Regions from separate parts of the Homo sapiens genome. Here region 1 is linked to region 2. The links are contacts of gene promoters, found by promoter capture Hi-C in blood cells and fetal thymus (Javierre and others, 2016). All regions are on one chromosome and are shown on one strand. Each heading gives the region's core, a stretch centred on a gene start or on the middle of the fragment in contact. The rest is flanking DNA. Distances are from core to core; before and after follow the strand shown. Region 1 has its middle 13 kb from the start of INTS8. Region 2 holds the start of GDF6 (growth differentiation factor 6).

Evidence for each region. Contacts are between HindIII fragments. The CHiCAGO score rates a contact against its expected background, and 5 or more counts as called.
Region 1: a contact is called between a fragment that was not itself captured here and the fragment with the promoter of GDF6 in region 2, in 2 of 17 cell types (total B cells and naive B cells). The highest score is 12.6, in total B cells.

Annotation. Positions count from the first base shown.
Region 1 is chr8:94,807,043-94,813,807 of GRCh38, reverse strand. No RefSeq gene overlaps it. Among named protein-coding and RNA genes, the nearest start is that of INTS8, 13 kb to the left of the region's middle. The HindIII fragment of the contact is 1,665 bases long and covers 814-2,478 here.
Region 2 is chr8:96,157,033-96,164,482 of GRCh38, reverse strand. It overlaps GDF6 (growth differentiation factor 6), which reads left to right and starts at 3,677. Exons shown (of 2, transcript NM_001001557.4): 1 at 3,677-4,196. The coding sequence starts at 3,791. The HindIII fragment of the contact is 9,891 bases long and covers 1-5,460 here.

The DNA.
Region 1 (6,765 bases), core at 397-2,896, 1.3 Mb after region 2:
CAAACAAAAAACTTGAAATCGGTTAATTTCTTTGGTATTTCTTTAAAAAAATATGCAATACAATTCAGACATAAACATACAATTTAAAACTTTATTCAATAAATATTTTTGAGGTGGGGGAAACTGGCTGATGGATTCTACTGCCATCTTGTGGCCATTAGGGATAGTGTCCATATCTACCGGTAATACCGGCTGGCTGGTATCACCTCTTCCTTATACTTTCCAGTATGGAAGAAGGAATATGACTTGAGGATTGTGATTGGAAGTAACTAATTCTTTGTACAAGCTATCCTGCAACACCTAACTGAATTACATCTTGTTAGGGACTTCCAAAAACAGATCTGTCAAGAGGTAATAAGCGAGTCCTACCAAACATGACTTTTCTCTGCGGTCTTCACTACCTCCTTGGACAGGTAGGCACCCTGTTGTATGTGGCCATAGAGCTGTGCATCCCGGTCATGGCATTCATATCACCTCCTTGCAGTTACCTATTTAACAGTCTCACTTCCCCGGTAGACTCCAAGATCTTGGAGGTGGGGGTGGGGGAGAGCAGAATGGTGGTTATACCGTTTACCTGGTACAGCCTCTAGTACACAGCAGGCACCCAGTAAATATTTGCTAAATAAATAAATCTTTTATTAAACACAAAGCACCTGCCTTTTACATGCATGCAAATGCTTCCCTATAAACCAGATCTACAAACCTTTATTTAATCTTTGCTTTATCTAACCTAAAGCATTATTAACCTGTTCTTAAGATATTTATGACTCACTCTATTGTCTAGGTTTTATAATCAGCAATAAACTTAAAGCTTGTTGGGGCTCAGAAAACGATACCCTAAAATGAAGGCCCCAGAGACATAAGTTTCTCTCTGACCCTCTCCTGACCTCCTGTCTCTGGACCATCATTCTCCCCTAAGGCTTGCCATAGAAACCAGAACCCCTTTTCCCTGGAGCTAGCCATCAAACCTAATAATATTACTCTAACTTCACCCTCCCACCCATTTTTCTGTGTAAAAACTGACATTAAAAAATTATGTGAGCTACCTTGGTTTTGGGGGTTTTGTTTGTTTGTTTGTTGCTTTTTGAGACGGGGTCTCACTCTGTCATCCAGGCTGGAGTGCAGTGGTGCAATCTTGGCTTACTGCAACCTCTGCCTCCCAGGTTCAAATGATGCTCCTGCCTCAGCCTCCCTAGTAGCTGGGACTACAGGCGCACACCACCATGCACATCTAATTTTTGTATTTTTAGTAGAGATGGGGTTTCACCATGTTAGCCAGGCTGGTCTCGAACTCCTGACCTCAGGTGATCCACCTGCCTCGGCCGCCCAAAGTGCCCAGCTATGTTGTTTGGTTATAGGTCATGAGACCCCCATTCCAGAGAGGGTGCTGCCCTGTCCCCAGTAGGAAGGAATGCTGCACTGAGAAGCCAAGAAGAATCTAGACAGACCTTGCAGGGTGTCCCCACTCAGTCTATTATGGTTAAGTCATACTCTTTTTGTCCAATTACATCTGTACATGGCTGTTCATACTTTGTTGAAACTAAGCATACAATGGACAGGTTCCCCGGTATCTTTGAGTCTTCATTCTGAAGGCTCTCATGTCACAAAAAGCTATGATCAAATAAACTTATATGCCTTTTCTTCTATTTACCTGCCTTCTGTTAGCTGATTTTCAGTGAACCTTCAGAGGATGAAGCAGAAGTTTTCCTTTACCTCTACAGCTCTTCCAAGCAGTGTCCATGTCTATACATCTGTATTTGTGTTATCCATACAGCACCTAGCTGAATGGATAACCGAATGTAGGCCTTATTCACCTAATGGAAGGAACAGGTGTGTCCTTATTGCCATGACATAGCCAGAGCAGAGGTCATTCCACTTTCATCTGGCAACCGCCTGCTACCTTCCTTTATAACCTTCTGTACAGTGATTGCTATAGTTTGGATGTTGTCCCTTCTAAATCTCATGTTGAATTATAATCCCCAGTGTTGGAGAAGGGGCCTAGTGGGAGGTAACTGGATCATGGGGGTGGATTTCTCATGAATGGTTTAGCACCATCATCTTGGTGTTGTCTTTGTAATACTGAGTGAGTTTGAGATCTGATTGTTTAAAAGTGTGTGGTACTTGGCCGGGCGCAGTGGCTCATGCCTATAATCCCAGCACTTTAGGAGGCCAAGGTGGGCAAATCACTTGAGGTCAGGAGTTCTAGTCCAGCCTTAACAACGTGATGAAACCTCCATTAAAAATACAAAATTAGCCAGCCATGGTGGCACATACCTGTAATCCCAGCTACTCGGGAGGCTGTGGTAGAGGTCGCAGTGAGCTGAGATTGCGCCACTGCACTCCAGCCTGGGTGACAGAAGGAGACTCTGTCTCAAAAAGAAGAAAAAAAATGTGTGATACCTCCCCTGAACTCTCTTGCTCTTGCTCTCACCCTGTGAGATGCCTGCTCCCCTTTGCCTTTTGCCAGGATTGGAAGCTTCCTGAGGCCTCCCCAGAGGCAGATGGCAGTACCATGCTTCCTGTACAGCCTACAGAACAGTGAACCAATTAAATCTCTTTTCTTTATAAATTATCCAGTCTCAATTATTCCTTTATAGCAATGCAAGAATGGCCTAACAAAAAGATAGACAGGCTTGATTGGGGACTGGGCCAGACAGACTCCTCCGTCTCCATTTCTGCATTGCCAGGCTCACTGTGGGGAAGGGCTCAGTTCTTCAGACTGGCTAGTGGTCTGTCATGTACATTCGACCAGCTGGCATCTAGAGGAGAAGTCACAGGAGCTTTCATGTTAGTCTCTCTTTTTGTTTTTACTTCCAAGTACTATATGTTTACACTAAAGGCTTTAAAGCATAAAAATCTCTCTGCATACAGATAAACAGGACAAAATTTTAAGGTGTGCTTTTAGAGTCAGAACTTTCCTGACATTCTCAGTAGGTAGAAAAAGATTGTCATATTAAAATACTATCAGGATACCACAGGCTGTATTTACTCCTGTATTTCCCCATGCTGTTGAAAGATCATAATTGTCTGTGGTAGGCACACAGCTCTTAGCAAGCAGTTGACTTCATTCGTTATAATGGAATAAGCCAAGTTTCCAAAGTCTTATCCAGACAATTTCAGAATTAGAGCAGATGAGCATGTGCGGGCAAATAATGTGATTTCTTCAAATATCCAGTTCTTAGACCACATACACACAAAGCAGAGAACAGAGATATTCAAAGTATGGTTTGAAGACTGGTGTCAGCTCCTAAACTGTTTCTGGTCGGTATCAAGATAAGCACGGGAATTGACAGTATGAATTTACAAATTTTTACTGCAATTTGACATTGTCTTGATAGCCAAGTTAATGATCAGTGGTCTTGTCTGGGGGAGCAGGGACAGAAGAGTTTGGGTGTTGGGGGACTTGGGTGGCAAATTCAACATGCAGAGCTGGGAACTAGTCCTAAACGGTAGGACCACATATCAGTGTGCAACAGATTGCAACATGGAACACAAAATAAAACTGCTTCTCCACCATAGATATTTCGAGAAGCACTATTCTTTTTTTTTTTTTTTTTTTTTTTGAGACAGAGTTTTGCACTTGTTTCCCAGGCTGGAGTGCAATGCCGCAATCTCTATCTCGGCTCACCGCAACCTCCGCCTCCTGGGTTCAAGCGATTCTCCTGCCTCAGCCTCCCGAGTAGCTGGGATTACAGGTATGTGCCACCACGCTTGGCTAATTTTGTATTTTGAGTAGAGACGGGGTTTCTCCATGTTGGTCAGGCTGGTCTTGAACTCCCGACCTCAGGTGATCCTCCCGCCTTAGCCTCCCAAAGTGCTGGGATTACAAGCGTGAGCCACCACACCCGGCCGAGAAGCACTATTCTCTAGAATTCATATGGAAGAAATTCTCAGCCACACTTATTTACACATTCCTTCATATTTTTTGATAGAGATGGAAATCTTGCCCTGTTGCCCAGGCTGGTCTTGAACTCCCGCCCTCAAATGATCCTCCTGTCTTAGCTGGGATTACAGGCATATGAGCCATCTCCTTGGGCCTCTCAGCCACATTTAACAAAATTGAAGTTCACTGTACTGTAGAGATGGGGTTTCACCATGTTGGCCAGGCTGGTCTCGAACTCCTGACCTCAAATGATCCTCCCGCCTCAGCCTCCCAAAGTGCTGGGATTAAAGGCATGAGCTGCAGTGCCTGGCCTAAGAGTTGATTTTTTTTTCTTTTTTTGTTTTTTGAGACAGCCTCGCTCTGTCACCCAGGCTGGAGTGCAGTGGTGCGATCTCAGCTCACTGCAAGCTCCGCCTCCTGGGTTCACGCCATTCTCCAGCCTCAGCCTCCCAAGTAGCTGGGACTACAGGCGCCCACCACCACACCTGGCTAATTTTTGTACTTTTAGTAGAGACGGGGTTTTACCGTGTTAGCCAGGATGGTCTCAATCTCCTGACCTCGTGATCCACCTGCCCCAGCCTCCCAAAGTGCTGGGATTACAGGCGTGAGCCACCATGCCTGGCCTCTAAGATGATTTTTAAAGAAGAATAATATTAGACCTAGATATAAGTATGCTATTACAGTGCTATTTATAAAAGCAAAACAAATAGTAAGAAATTAAAAAAATAACCACAATGTTCTATAGCAGGGGAATAATTAAAGCAGTGTATTTCACCACAAAATGAGACATTGTATAATAACACAATTTTTGCTTTTGGAGAATAATATATACATAATTATATAAATTTTATAAATATTATATAGTTTATATAAATGTCATACATATGATACATATATGTTCATGATAAAATATAAAGCATAAAAGCAGGACCAAAAAAGGGTACAGAAAATTTTCCTAATTTTGTTAAAATTAGAAACACACACACACAAACACAATACAGTCTGTAAAGAAATATACCAAACAAATCAATATAGGGGCCATCTCTGCACAGTGGAACTCAACAGTACAGCAGTTGTCTCAGGTGATTTTGTGGCTCTCCAGGACTCCAGGAAGCTGGAAACTAATGCTTTTCAGGGACATATGCAACGACTCTCCTTTTTCCCTAGAGGAGGCTGTGGCTCTAAGTCTGGTTCACAAACCAGGCAAGCCCAGGGTTTGTAAACATTCCCACTGGTGGCCACACATTCATGGTTGGATAGGTTCTCCCACGGAGGGCAGAGAAAGCCCCACAGATGCCTGTGATACAGAAGGAAATTTAGCTTCTCTGGTTTGGCCACATAGTGCCAGTAAGATTTTGCATTCATGACTAATTAAATCAAGATCTCAATTAACCTGAAGGTAAGAGTCATGTATAAATAAATGTGTGTGCACTCAAATGGTTTCTCCCCCACAATCCTCAGTCCACTTGAATTTCACACTTTTTTCTTTATAGGTTTCTCTCTTTTCCTGATTTCCTACACTGATCATGGATTGCTTTTGATCCATACTATTTAAGGATAGAAAAAACTAGCAGACAGAGGCAGCTTAGCCATTAGGTGAGGAGCAATCACCCAGGGCTCCCCAAAGTCCAGGGTGTTACTAGGCCATAGACTTCAACTGTCAGCACTGTGGCCTTCGAGCCTAACAAGAAAATATGAAAGATCAACCATTGTTTGTAAACACATTCCTGCTCCTCTAAAAAAGAATGAGATCCTGTCATTTGCAATAACATGGATGGAACTGGAGATCATCAAGTAAAATAAACCAGACACAGAAAGACAAAGTTCACATGTTCTCACTTATTTGTGGGAGCTAAAAATTAAAACAATTTAACTTATGGAGATAGAGAGTGGAAGGATGGTTAGCAGAAGCTGGGATGGGTAGTGAGGGGTGGGGGGAGGTGGGGATGGTTAATGGCTACAAAAAAATAGAAAAAATGAATAAGACCTAGTATTTGATAGCACAACAGGGTTACTATAGTAAACAATAATTTAATTGTATTAAAAATCAGTAAAAGAGTATAATTGGATTGTTCGCAATACAAAGGATAAATGCTTGAGGGGCAGACACCCCACTTACCATGATGTGATTATTATGCATTGCATGTCTGTATCAAAGTATCTCATGTGCCCCATAAATATATATACCTACTATATACCCATGTAAATTAAAAATAAAAAATGGAAAAAAGAATTGATTTTTAAAAAATTTGAGCCAACTAATAAAACACACCATGACTCCATGACTTCATCCTCTAGCAAAAAGAGCTTCTCTATTTATAAAAGGAATTTTCTGTGAAGCACCACTGAAATGTTTCAGAGAACACGGAAACGGGGCACCATGGAATCACAGCTGGTCACACACATGCTTGGGAGGAGCAGTGGAGAATCCCCACTCTTATTATCATGGAATGTTGAAAATAGAGAATGTGTTATGTGTTCTTTGAAGAAAGCAATGTATGAAGAAACCTTTAGTAAATCCCTGGGTGGTGGTGTTGGCTTCCAGACTGACCAATTCAAAGGGAGAGAGATACCTTCTCAGCCTCACCCTGCCACCTGTCCCAGCATTACCCATCACTTTCACTCAAGTTATAAGATATAAACAGGAAAAAAAAATTCCAATGACATTTTCTAATTTTTCTTCCTACTTGGAAACATCCCTCTTCATGACACAGCTTTTCTTTTATTTTTTTTATTTTTTTGAGACAGAGTTTCACTCTTGTCGCACAGGCTGGAGTGCAATGGCGAGATCTCAGCTCACTGCAACCTCTGCCTCCTGGGTTCAAGCGATTCTCCTGCCTCAGCCTCTAGAGTAGCTGGGATTATAGGTGCGCACCACCATG
Region 2 (7,450 bases), core at 2,428-4,927:
TCTTCCATCTGTTTGGTGTAGAAAAATCTAACCACTACAAGAATGCCACGGTGCTCACATCAGACCTTCTCAATGCATCTCAAGAAACTTTCACTTTTCTAACATTTTTCACAGATAAAGTTGTTTAAGATTACTAGAACATCTAAGATTAGATCGAAAATTTAAATTCTATAGCACTAGTTCAAAGACTCAAAATGTTCCCTGAAGAGATCTTAAAAGCAGATTTGGACTTGTGGTTTGCTCTTCGTATCTTTATTTTTCACACACACACACACACACACACACACACACACACACACAGAGAGAGAGAGAGCAAGAGAGAGAGAGAGAGAGAGAGAGAAAGACAGCATGAGTGCAAAGGCTTTGGTGTGGTCTCCACATTGGGGTGGATTCCTATCTGAAACTATCTGAAATTTACCCACTGGAGAGGAAGAGATCAGACACTATATACTACTGTGGGTCATTGTCATGATCTTTGAAATTTTTTTTTTAATACAGGAGAAGCATTCGCTTAGGAGTCAGAATGTCTTGGCTCCTAATCCTAGCTGTATTTTGGACTAGTTTAAAACCTCGGGCTCTCTCCACTGAGTTTGTCTGCACCTCTGTTTCCTCACCTGTAAAATGATCGCTGCAGCCCTTTCAGGCAAAGACCAGCTAGAACTTTTCTTGCAAAGACCCGAGGCTGATAGCGATGACGGAGGGTAATGTCAGCCCCAGGGGAATCCTGAAGGACAACAGACCATGGCCTTTGTGGTCCCTGTTTCAGTGTCATTTACTGTTCCGTGTGGCTCCATCTAGCAGGCTGAGAGGTCCTAAACCACAGCAATAGGCTCATTACTTTGTTTCCTGTTTACTGATAACTTGCAGCAGATAATAATTGCTGTGGGCAAAATGAAGAGAGAACACATAGAGTTGCCTCTGCAGGCAGGAAACATACAGTACTTATTGGATGGAGGGTCTGAAACTGTAAAACTATGAATCATTGTTAACCAGGCACCATACTGATAGAAATTAAAATATTGATAACACAAACCACAAGTGTTGTTTCCTGGGGAAGGGATGGAAATAGATCACAAGGAGGGCACTTTCCCGGATGACACTTGAGAGGCAGACATACAGAGCAAGACACAGGGCAGGCCAAAAAAGACCACTTACATCCCACAGGCGACAGGTAGGCAGGGGGGAAATGTTCCTTCTGCAAATGAGAAATGGGGAGTTTTGAGTCTGTGGTTTTACAGAGATTGCATTTGCAGGCCAGCAGAGGGGCAGTGAAGGGGGGACATAGGGGAGAGACATCGAAGGCAGTGGATTTGGTTGTAAAATGTTAAGTGACAAGGGAGGAATCCAACATAATATCTATCCCTGGATTACAATAATATGAAAAGGATATGTGCATAACAAATAAAGAAGGAGTGGAAGGGAACCCAAAAGGTAAAAACATTTGGATTTGTTGTAGTGGCAAAAATTTGAGAAATAATTTTTTCTTTCAGTTTATCTCCTTTTATTTTATTTTATTGTAAATATTAACAAGCCATTTTAAAGCACAGAGAGAGGAAGGAAGAAAATATTATAGTAAAAGCACCTTCAAGTATAAGGTCTCAGAACTTGACAACCATGAAACCCAAACTAGGGGACATAAGTAGAATTGGGATAGGGCCAGAAGGGGCATCCACGGAGACCAAGGGGAGAGCAGCCAAGCTCAATAGCCCAGTGATTAAGAGCCCAGACTCTGGAGTAGTGTGACCCTGGGCCTCACTTTCCCTATCTGTAAAATAGGAATAATACAGCACTTATTTCAGGATTGCTGTGAAGATTAAGTAAAATAATATTGGCGAAGGGCTTCAAACCATGACTGACACACAAGTTCTCTGTGGGTGCTTGCCATTACCTGGAGGAGGCCAGTGTCCAGGGTGGAGGGCATATCCCAGACCTTAAGGAAGTTAAAGGATGAGGGGAGCAGCGCAGCAAAACTCCCTCCCCCTGCAGGCTGTCATGTGAGTGGTCCCTGCAGGACAGAAGAGGTGATGAAAAAGCAAAAGGAAGAAGGGGTTAGAAAGTGAGAGGGAGGAGATTGGAGAGACTGGGAACACACACAGAAAGTAGCATGGCGGAGAAAGAAGCCACCTGAGATCAAGTGAAACCATAAAGAGAAGAAAAAAGCCAGAACTGAAATAGAGAAGTTGGGCCAGGAATGACTGTCTATGCTGTAGTGGGAAGAATCTTGGGCTTGGGGTGGGAGCCTGGGTTCTGTCCCTTGCTGCATAACCTCTTGGCAGAGTGGCCTTGGAAAAGTCACTTATTTCCATTGAGTCTTTTTTTTTTCCATCCGTGAAGGTGAAAATAGTCAACGCCAACCTCACAAAGCTGTTGGCACGATTAAAGGAGGGTACTTTATGGTTGGTGCCTGAGCACCCAATCAGTACTGAGGGAAACTCTTCTGCCCATAGCAGTCCAGGGCAGAGCACTGTGGCAGACAGAAGCAGCGCTACGCCGCATCGCCTTTCAGCGTGCAGGCCCAGGAATGAGCGAGGCAGTGGGCGGGGAAGACAGGCACGGGGAATCTGGGGACAGATAAAGGAAACTCGTGATGGGGCGAGGCTGGGCTGAAGAGAAACAGATTGGGGTAGAGCTGCAAAGGGAGGGGTCCACTGGAAGGCGAGGGGGGAGGCCGGGAAGAGAGAGGGTGGGAAGGCAGTGTGAGATGGGAGGGCAGTGTGAGAAGAAAAGCAGGCTGGGGAAGAGGGATTGGAATGCAGAAGGAACTTGGGGAAGGAGGAAGTCCTGCAGGCGGGAGGGAAAGAAGAGAGGGAAAATGGGGATGCAGTGGAGGCGGGGGGCAGGCCGCGAGAGGGAGAGGATCCCGGGAGCAGACGAAGAAGTGGAGCAGCTAAAGTCTGCGTCAGAAGAGGTTGGGGACTGCGAGAGGAGAGGCTGGGGCCTGCAGGGGAGCGCAGCAGCTTTTAGCATCGATCCAAACTCTAAAGACTCGTGGCCTTTGCCTGACCTCGAGGGTCGGGAATAGACGCCTGTCTTTGTGGAGAGCGATACCCAACCGAGAAAATGGGGCTGTTCCGAGCTGGGCCCTGCGCCTGGCCCAGGGCGAGGCTTCTCTGGCTCCGGGCTGGCCCCTGAGGGGCGCAAACGGCAGGCCTGGCGGTTGGGGCCGAGGAGGGAGGGTACCACCGCCCCGAGGCAGCACGCAGCCTGCAGCAGAGGCGCCTGCTCCAAGCTGTCTCTTGGGGGCGCCGCCGCCGCTTCCCTCCTCCGGGGCCGCTCGCTCCCAGGAAAGTGGAGGCGGCTGGCGAGGACCGAGAGCCGGGGCCGCGCTGCGGAGGGACCACACCTCCGGGAGTTCGAGGGGGACCCTGGCGCGGCGGGCCAGCCTTTGCTCCCCGGCCACGGGCCGGCAGCGCCCGCCTTCCCCCGGTCAGCGCTTGCGGCCCGCGCCGCGCGCACCGCCCGGCAACCCCGCGCGCGTCCCGCGGGGGCGCTGCGTCTTCCTGCCACACCGGCGCACCGCGGCCCCTCTCCCCCACACCTCCGGCCCGCACCACCCGGCTCTCCTCCCACCCTCCCCACCCCTCCTCTGCCCTCCCTCCCCATTCCTCCCCTCCCGGCGAGGGGCGGGAGGGGGCGTGGCGGGGCCGGGGTTTGTGTGGCTGGGACCCGGCTCCTCGCACTCCGAGTCCGCCCGAGGAGCCGGGCCCCGGCCGCTGTCCAGCCGCTCCGTGCCCCGCGCGTCCTGCGCCGCCGCCACCGCCTCCTGGGGAGACGCAGCCACTTGCCCGCCATGGATACTCCCAGGGTCCTGCTCTCGGCCGTCTTCCTCATCAGTTTTCTGTGGGATTTGCCCGGTTTCCAGCAGGCTTCCATCTCATCCTCCTCGTCGTCCGCCGAGCTGGGTTCCACCAAGGGCATGCGAAGCCGCAAGGAAGGCAAGATGCAGCGGGCGCCGCGCGACAGTGACGCGGGCCGGGAGGGCCAGGAACCACAGCCGCGGCCTCAGGACGAACCCCGGGCTCAGCAGCCCCGGGCGCAGGAGCCGCCAGGCAGGGGTCCGCGCGTGGTGCCCCACGAGTACATGCTGTCAATCTACAGGACTTACTCCATCGCTGAGAAGCTGGGCATCAATGCCAGCTTTTTCCAGTCTTCCAAGTCGGCTAATACGATCACCAGCTTTGTAGACAGGGGACTAGGTAAGTGGCAAAGAAAACGCTCGACTCCCCTCCCGCTGGAGCTCGGCAGCCAGGGAGCTGTTCCCGCTGGAGGCTACATTTGTGAATTCCCTTCCTGCTCTGGACACTTCCTTTTTACTTTTCTTAAATTGTTTTTCTCAAGCTCGAGTAAGTTTCTGAATGTGGCTGCGGATTCTATTCCAGTCTCTAAACCTCCCTTCCTTTCCCCCCCTTTCTTTCTCTCTCCCTTCTTTCCTTCTTCCTCTTTTGCAGAAGGCAGCGTGGTTGCCGCTTGTTGGTGGCTGGTGGGGGAAACGTGGAGGACGGGAGGCAGCAGGCGGATGAACCCGGCTGGAGAGGGGTCGGGATGGGGACTGATGGAATCGGTGTCTCGGGATACTGGGTTCGCAGTCCAAGGCCTGAGCTGCTGGGGCAGATCTAGGGCATGAGACAGCCTTGGAAAGCCCTGGGCAAAGCCGGCACTAGGGAGTCCCACAGTCTGAGGAACTAGTCCGCGAGCGGCGTCGGGCAGCCCCCTGGTCCTGGCGCCGCGCGGGTTTTCCGTTGGTCCCTGCGCTGGGTGGGATGGTCAGCCGGGCTGGAGCCCTGCGCCCTCCGGCTTTTTTGCTCCAGCGTGGTGCTCCCGGCTGCTCCGAGGCCTCAACACGAGTGGTTTCTGCAGATGCGGCGGCAGCAGTTGGGCGGGCCGGGACAGGGACGGCTAAGTTCGGAGGTTGTGGGTACTTAATACACAAAGGTACATGGGTATGCCCATCCACCTTTCTCAGCCAGGCGACGTTCCTCTCTCTACGCTATTCCTGAGGGCTGGTGGGGGTCTGGGAAATCCCTGGTACCCTCTGTGGGAACGCCTGCATGTGTGGGTGTCTGCGGAAACCCTTGCGGCCCCTTCTTGCCACCGGCGTTGATCTGCAGCGTGGCCAGTGCCCTCAAGAAAACCTCGCACCACCTCTGGTCCCAGAAATCAGGGAAGGATCCACAGGCATCGGAAACTAAGCTCCTAAAGGAGAGAGACAATAATGTGGAAGGAGACAGGAAAGGAAGGGAGAAAAAGGAAAGGAAGAGTAAAGAGAAGGAAGGAAGAAAATGACGGGATAAAAGCGATTTAGGCAGATATCCACTCCTCCATCCTCCCTAGACTTAGCTCCATGACTTTGACCTGCTCCCAGTTAAGTGGGGTTGCCCGGAAACCTTGCAGCGCTGGGGTTCGGGATTCGGAAGCTGCTTCAGCCACTGCTACCCTGGGTGCTCGCACATCTCTTAAGCTTTTTAGAGCAGGCTAACGGCCCCCCCGCCCCCAGCCCCGAGCTCTTCCCCGGCTCCAGTCCCCGCCTCTCACTCATAGTCGCGTTCCTTGCTCGAGGGTCTCGCCGCTGCAGCCCGAGGTCAGCGAGGTTCATGAGCTGCTGAAAGGTCCAGAGGGCAAATTAACGCCAGGTATTTTATGATGATTTTAGGGCTACTAAAGTCACCTTTGCAAAGACATGTGGCTTCTTCGTAGTAGTGCAACTGAGTCCCTGGCCTCCGTGCTGCCCGTGCAGCTCGCCAACCCTCCCCACGACGCACGCCTTGCTACAGTTGTTTCTGTCCCTCAAAGTCCTCTGTTAATCGTGCACTTTCTCTACTACAATTGCGGAAGGAGGCTAAGGAAGCTCAGAGAAGACTGCTCAAGAGGCCCTTCCTCAAGAGAAGAAGTCCCAGAGGCCTAGGCTGGCCGGCGGTTGGGCGCGGATTTTCTTTGCCCGGGAATGAAGTGGCAAGAATCTCTGCCCCTCCCCCAAGTGGGCACCATAACTGGTTCGCTGCGCCCTGTGAATTTGGCACAGGACCAAAAGACCCTGCGGGCTGTTCGGAGGTGTCTCCGGAAGCCTGTGGCATTCAGACAAGGGTTGGGGAAAAGTCTTGGGGGCCCCAATCCGGCGTAGACGCGAAATCACTTTACCCTGGTTTGCCCTGTAGCCTCCCCACCCCCATCCCCGCCACTGCGCTGTATGCCCCCGATCCTGGAGATAGAGGAGGGATTGCATGTGCACCCAGTCTGGGGAGGCCTCTGTTCCCGAGCCAAGGCCTCCAGACTAGCAGGACCGAGATCCACAAGTACCGCTACAACCCCGGAATGCGGTGGAGGGCTGGGGATGCGAGCGGTCCACAGCGGGAGGAGACGCTGCATGACCACCCGGACAGCATCTTCAAAGGCGCTGTCTCCTCCGCGTCTCCGGGTTCTCAGAAAATGCGAAGAAAGGCAGTTCGTTGACTGGGAAGGCGGTGCGGCTTGTCGCACGCCGCGCGGGGGTGAAGGAGTGCGGAGCCACGGGCGGGAGGGGTGCGCAGAGGAGGGGGTGCGTTGCTGGCTGCAGCCCCAGCTTGATAAAGGGAAAGCCTCACTTTCCCTCTCACTGATTTTGATTTGATGTGTCACCGGCGGTGACCTCAGGCTGGACCTTCCGGGGCTTGCTTAGCATCGGGCCCCTGATTGGAGTGTTTCAACTCAGCGATCTAATTGAGGGTTCATGTCATAACACATCAAACGGTGTCTCGTCTCCCGTGATGGAAGGGACCCGCCAGCCGCGCATCCCCGGCTCCTGGCAAGGACTTCCGCCCCTCTCACGTGGGGCTCTTAACCGCGCCAACCCCCCTAGGGTCCCCTCCCCCAACGCGTGGACGGCCTGGCGAGGAGGAAAGAGCAGCGGCCCGCCTAGAGCTGGGCCAGCAGCGCTAACTTGGCGCCTTGCCTAAGGGATGTTTAAATCGCCGTCGAGTGGGGCTGGCCTGGCTCGGTGGAGCCGGGGGTCCCCCAAGGGGAGGAGCGAAGAAAAGGAAAGGAGCCCCGAAGTCAGTCCAGGAGGCATGGGCGACTTGCTCCTGTACAGTATCTGTAAAAAGCCTTCCTTACCCCGGAAACCCCAAAGTTACACCTGAAGCCTATGGTTGAGAGTGGGAGAACAGGCATAAACTCTGCCCAAAGTGAATGAAGGACGCTTTAGGTTTATAAAGAAAGCAAGTTCTGTACTCCATCCCAGGCCACTTCTCCCTATCCTCCAGGAGGAGAACTTATTGGGGAAAAAAAAAAGAAACCAAACAAACCTAAAACAGGTCCCTTCTTTCAGTATGCTCTCCAGACACCTAGGAGTAATAATAGTAACCACGATTTATTGAAAATTTACTGTGTACCAAGCATTGCACTAAAATTGGTTACATGAATTATCTCGCTTAGTTATCACAACCACTTCCTAGGAAAACGCTATCATCACCACGTT